Regions from separate parts of the Homo sapiens genome. Here region 1 is linked to region 2. Evidence: promoter capture Hi-C in human tissues and cell types (Jung and others, 2019). All regions are on one chromosome and are shown on one strand. The core of a region is centred on a gene start or on the middle of the fragment in contact, and the rest is flanking DNA. Distances in the headings are between cores, read along the strand shown.

Region 1 (2,786 bases), core at 102-2,601, 52 kb after region 2:
GAGCAGATTTGGAGGTGAACACACAGAGATGCAGATGGCAGGAAGGAGGCAGAGAAAGAGACGCTGAAAAGGAAGGTGGTGGTTGGCAGGAGGCTGGATGGTTCTAGGACTAGCGCCAGGAGAGGTCATGGAATTTGTTTCCCCAGCAATATATTCTGGCTGAAATGGCTTCCATATCCTCCTGTTTGAACAAATGCAGGTGGCCTAAAGGATTTCTCAGGGATGCTTTTTTTCTTTTTTGGTGTACATTTCTATGAATTTTAACACATGTATAGATTCATGTGAACACTGCCATAATCAGGATAAAGAACAGCTCTACCACCTCAGTAAAGCACCTCATGCTGTATTTTGTGGTCATCACCTTCCCCACCTATAATCCCTGGCAACCTCTGACCTGTCTTCCAGTGCTTTTTTTGAGACCATCAAATAAATAGAATAATACAATCTGTAAATTTTTGAGACTAGCTTCCTTTTACTAAGCATAGTGTTATCCAGGCTGTCATGTGTATCAATAGCTTGTTCCTTTTTACTGCTGAGTACAATTTCATTGTATGTATCTACCACGGCCTATTTATTCATCCATTAGTTGAAGAACATTTGGATGGTGGAAGAGAATATCTTTGTCTTATTCTGAATTAAGGGGCATTCAGTCTTTCAGCATGGAGTAGGATGTTAGCTGTAGGGTTTTTGTAGACACCCTTTACAGAGTTGGGGAAGTTCTCTTTTATTCTTAGTTTGCTGAAAGTTTTTACCATGAATACATGTTCTAGTTTGCCAAATGCTTTTTCTGCTTCAATTAATATGATCATGTGTTTCTTTCTTCTTCATACTGATAGTTTGACAGTTCCATTGATTCATTTTTGATGAACAAACCTTACATTCTTGGGATAAATTGCCCTTGCCATGGTGTATTGTTCCTTTTAATGTATTGTTGGATTTGAATTTGTTGATGAATGTTGCTGAAATATTTTGTTGATTGTGTTTGTGTCTATGTTCATGAAGGATACTGGTCTGAAATTTTATTGTACTGTCTTTGCCCAGTTTTGGTACCAAGGTAATGCTGGCTTCATAAAATGAGTTGTGAAATGTTCCCTCTTCTTTTGTTTTCTGGAAGAGAATGTGTAGAATTAATGTTATTTCTTCTTTAAATGTTTGATAGAATTTGCCCACCAAACCATTTGGGCCTGGAGATTACTTTTTCAGGAGGTCTTTATCTAAAAATTTATTTGTAGATAAATTATTTATTTTATTTATTTTTTGATAAAAGTACAGATATAGTACTATTCAGGTTATCTATTTCATCAAAGATGAGTTTTGATAGTTTGAGGAATTACCTCATTAAATCTAAGTTGCCATATTTATATGTGTAGAGTTGCCTGTCGTATTGCTTGCTATCCTTTTAATGTCTGTGGGGCTTGTAATGATTTCCTCTCTTTCATTTATGATCATGGTAATTTGTTTCTTTTTTGTCTCTTTTCTCTTTCTCTCCTTTTTCTATCAGTCTTGCTAAAAACTTACCATTTTTGTTGCTCTTTCCAAAAAAACCAAGCTTTTGTCTCACTAGTTTTGCTTTTCTGTTTTCAACTTCATTTACTTCTGCCATTTATTTTTTTTCTTCTGTTTGCTTAGTTTTATTTTGCTCTTATTTTCTACTTTCTTAAGGAGAAATTTCCATTGTTGATTTGAGACTTTTTTCTTTTCTAATATAAGCATTTAATGGCTTACATTTTCTGCAAAGCACTTATTTCCCGGAGCCCTCAAATTACTCCTCACTGCCTTCTTTCCAAGATTTGTAACTGCATTCAGCAGGAGACACAAGGTGTGGTATGCTTCCTCTGTCTGACCCAGAACTGGCTAGTCTTTGAAAATAAAATTTTTCTAGGAATTTTCTGCCAAAGAAAATTCCTCTATTTCCAAGCACACACACCAGCAAGATAAAAGTATGGCATTTTTCTGGTGGTTTGCCAGAAGTGCATGCTTAAAGCTAATGGCTACCAAGATAAACTTTTTTTCATGATTGGTGCTTAGCTTTTGAACAATTTATTATTATTATTATTAATTATTCCTCCAAACTTCTGTTATAGAGGATATATTGTTAACCTCTCTTTAGAGAAGAAAGCCAATGCCCTCACAAGAGACATCTTTTGGATGGAGTGTCTAAAGGCTCAGTCAAGCCCCCAATTCAAATGGCACAGGAGAAAAAAAATTGATCCCCCGTAGACATTCCTATGGCCTACCTAGTTTGTTCTCTAATCCATTTGGCTTGACCTAGAAGTAGCAAGTCAGTTCCAATGAATTGAGATAGGGAATCTCACTGCACTATTTGTTTTCCAGTGTTTGTAAAGGAAAAAAGTCAGGGAATGAGCCAGGATTATGCTTCGGAATCCCGAGGCCTCTGGCTCTTGCTCTTTATTCTCCTTCGTCAATGATACAAGGATACCTTGTAATCGCTCTGTCTCCACCTCAGCCACATATGTTTTAATATTTAGTATTTGCATTGGCTAGGAAAGCATCATTTCCACTGCTAATCTATCTGTGTAGTCATGGCCAAGATTTTCTTTGTTAATTCATATAGAAATCAATATAGGCTGGTGCAGTGGCTCATGCTTGTAATACCAGAACTTTGGGAGGTAGAGGCAGGTGGATGACTTGAGCTCAGGAGTTTGAGACCAGCCTGGGCAACATGGTAAAACCCTGTCTCTACTAAAAATATAAAAATTAGCTGGGCATGGTGGCTCATGCCTGTGGTCCCAGTTACTGGGGAGGCTGAGGTGGGAGGATCTCTT
Region 2 (3,014 bases), core at 325-2,824:
TGGGTACTTTCGAGATTTCTGGACCGGGCCCCACTGCCGTAAGAACCACAACAAACCATAAGAGGTGAGTGAGAGGAGATTGCCAGCCTACCAGCCTGGGGAACCTGAATCTGGGGATCACGACTCTGTGACTGTAGTTGCACAAAATGGAAGGTACCCATTTTGTGTAGAGTGTGCCCTGTACAAACATTTACCTAGAGCTGACTAAGTGCCTGATACTGTCCTGCCCTGGGATAGAGCGAAGGAAAAGAAACAATCCCTTTCCCTAACATCCCCAGGATCTCCTGGTGTGCAGGCACTGGCGCTCCCGGAATCGGTCCCGCGGTCCCACCCACCTCTGCCTGGTGATGAGGTTGATGTAGTGTCGCAGCGCCGAGTAGTATCTGGCCATGTCCTCCGCTGGTGCGTCCTCGCCCGGGTTGTCCGGCTTGGAGGGGTACGCCTCGGCCAGCGCACCCAGGCACACGAGCAGGGACAGGGCGAGGGTCAGTCCGGACAGCCCCAGTCGCTTGTTACCTAGCATCTGCAGGCACAGAAGGCTCAACGGACGGGCTTGGGGATTCAGAGCACCCACGCGCAGCACCTCCCTCCTCTGCCCCCCGCGCTCCTCCTCCTGCTACCACACGCGACCCCCAATCCGCTCTCGTCCCAGTCCCGCAGAGAGAACCCAGGAGTGGCTAGCACCACCTTGCGGGCTCCGGGCGCCGTCCGGTCGGGACCTGCCCCTCTGCTCCACCTGAAAACTTCGCGCAACTTCGTTCGAAGTCTCAGGGACCAAGAAGCGCGCGGCGAGAGTGCAAGGTGGGGGCCCCGCCAGTTTAGCATTCAAAACCGAATTGGAAGTTCTTCCTGCTGGGTCACTTTTCTCCCTTCTTGCCCAAACTCTTGTCTGGGAAGAAAAGTTTCTTCTCTGTTACTTCTGGTCTGCCTAGCTTCAGGGGATCAACGCTGACAGCAGAGATCACCTCGGGGTGACGACTGCGGTGGGGAAGGGGAAAGAGAATTGCTCCCTGGGCCAGAATTGCTCCAAAGAGATTTGGAGCCCAAGAATCCAGGGAGGTGGCAGGGCGCGGGGCTCTAGAGCTCCAGGGATTCCTCACTCGATGGCGCTGCCGGGGAAACCTTCCTACCGCGCACCGCTTCCTGGGCCTCAAGGCGGCGACCCGCAGGGAGACCGCCAGCTGCCTTGGGATAGCGGTCCCGGGTTCTCCCTCCATATCTGCTAAAAGGTAACTCAGAAGAACCGCCCAGCGGGAAGGGCCCGGGAGAAGGGCCGTGGACAATCAGAGGGGAGCAGAGGAACAAGTGGAATTTAGCCGCCAAGAGGGCTGGTCCGCGTCGGGGCGCGGAGCCGGCATAGTCCGCTGGGGAGTGGAGCGCGATCATCCCAGGGCCCCAGGGCTCCACAGAGCGGGAGGCTGCGTCTCTAGCAAGTTCGCGGGCGCCCCGTTCGCTCCCACCCCTAGACAGACGGGTCGTAGCACTCACGGTGGCTGGCGCGCGGGCGTGGCTGGGCGGCAAGTACTATGCTGTCGGGCGAGCGTCTCCGAGGGGTGAGAGCCAGCGGATGGGGTGCAGAGAGCGGGTCGCGACAGGGCTTTTATGGAGCTTCCTCGCCGCGGCAGGAGGGGCCTCGGGCAGTCACGCTTGGGTGACTCCCACCCGCCACTTCCCGCCCCTGAGTGGCGGGGGGAGGGGGCTGGAACCGCAGCCGCACGAGTGTCGACTTAGGGAGCCACCCACACCCCAACCCTCCCGCCCCAGGCACTGCCTGAAGAAGCGGGGCCTGGGACCGCGTGAGCGAGGCAGCGCACTCCGAGCGCGCTGGACAACACCAAAGCCCAAGTATCTGCCCTCGGGCAGTGCCCGATCCCTGCTTTCCTTCTTTCCTTCTTTCCTTCACGCCCCGTCTAGTCCTGCCAGAGATAGGAGCAGCCCAGACGATTCTTGTCTCCTGCCAACAGGACTACCAACCCACTGGGTGCCGGAGTAGGAAGCACCTGAATCCTCTTTGTGGTGGGGCATCTCCACGACTAGCGCGGCATCCTCGCCGGGCACAACTGCGCGCTGTTGGAGTGAGGCAACTGGGCGCACAGATTTTTCCTGTACTTAGAACAAGTCGGAGGCAGCTGCCGGAAGTCTCCGGCTAGAGGGTCCCAAAGCTGCGCTCCCCACCCCACCCCCGCCCGTGGTTTCAGGGGCTTCTGCCCCTTCTCTCAGCTGGTTTTTCTAGATCAGCCTTCCTCAAGTACTCGCTCAGACGCAGCGAGCCAGGCTCGGTCGAGACATGAGTGTGGCGACTCAAAATTCCCCAGAGGGGGAACACGGTAAACCTATTCCCCCAGTTTGCTGAAAAAGAGCCACGCTTCCAGCTTCTAGAGACTCTTTTAAGCTCAATTTTAAAAATATATATTTTTTCTTTTTTGGTCCAAAGTGACGGTGGTTAAATGAACAACAGTTTCTGTCTTATTTACTAACCCTTGTATAGTCCTATGTACGTTCAATTAACGTTGAGAATGTGGGTTCTGATTAAGATGAAACATGTTAAAAACGATGAACATTAATTTGCTCATCGCGTTAAACCTGTTGAATGAATATGCAAGATACAGAAACTATTATTACAGGATCAAGATTTTATGCAGTGGACTGAGATCTGAAAGTTCCGTGAATGAATGCTCCTGTATCTTTCTAAATAAAATGGCATTTTATTTCTAAATGAAATATAAGTCTGAATCTTTCTAAATAAAAAGGCATGTTGGGAAATTAAAGCATTAAGTTCCATGTTATTTTAATGCTAAAAGGACAAGTGATTCTGTTAAACTGACACTTAGTTTTTGTGCTGTTCCAACAGCATTGAATTAAATATCAAAAACCGTGAAGCAAACAATCCTTTGCATGTATGTGTTTGTGTGTTTGTGGGATCAAACTATAATTTTGGAGACCAACATCCCTTTCACTTGGCAACTGCTTCTCTTTCTGTATTACACAAACATATGCTGAGGACACAAAAATCA

What was found. The method cuts DNA at HindIII sites, captures the fragments that hold promoters and counts their contacts. A contact is called where the count stands out against the background at its distance.
Region 1: a fragment that was not itself captured here is called in contact with the fragment with the promoter of NPY in region 2 in 1 of the 25 tissues and cell types used here (hippocampus).

The regions. Positions count from the first base shown.
Region 1 is chr7:24,230,861-24,233,646 of GRCh38, reverse strand. All of the region lies in intron 2 of LOC107986777 (a long non-coding RNA gene), which reads left to right. Among named protein-coding and RNA genes, the nearest start is that of NPY, 52 kb to the left of the region's middle. The HindIII fragment of the contact is 4,172 bases long and covers 1-2,786 here.
Region 2 is chr7:24,282,750-24,285,763 of GRCh38, reverse strand. NPY (neuropeptide Y) reads right to left here and starts at 1,574. Exons shown (of 4, transcript NM_000905.4): 1 at 1,489-1,574; 2 at 336-523. The coding sequence starts at 523. All of the region lies in intron 2 of LOC107986777 (a long non-coding RNA gene), which reads left to right. The HindIII fragment of the contact is 14,633 bases long and covers 1-3,014 here.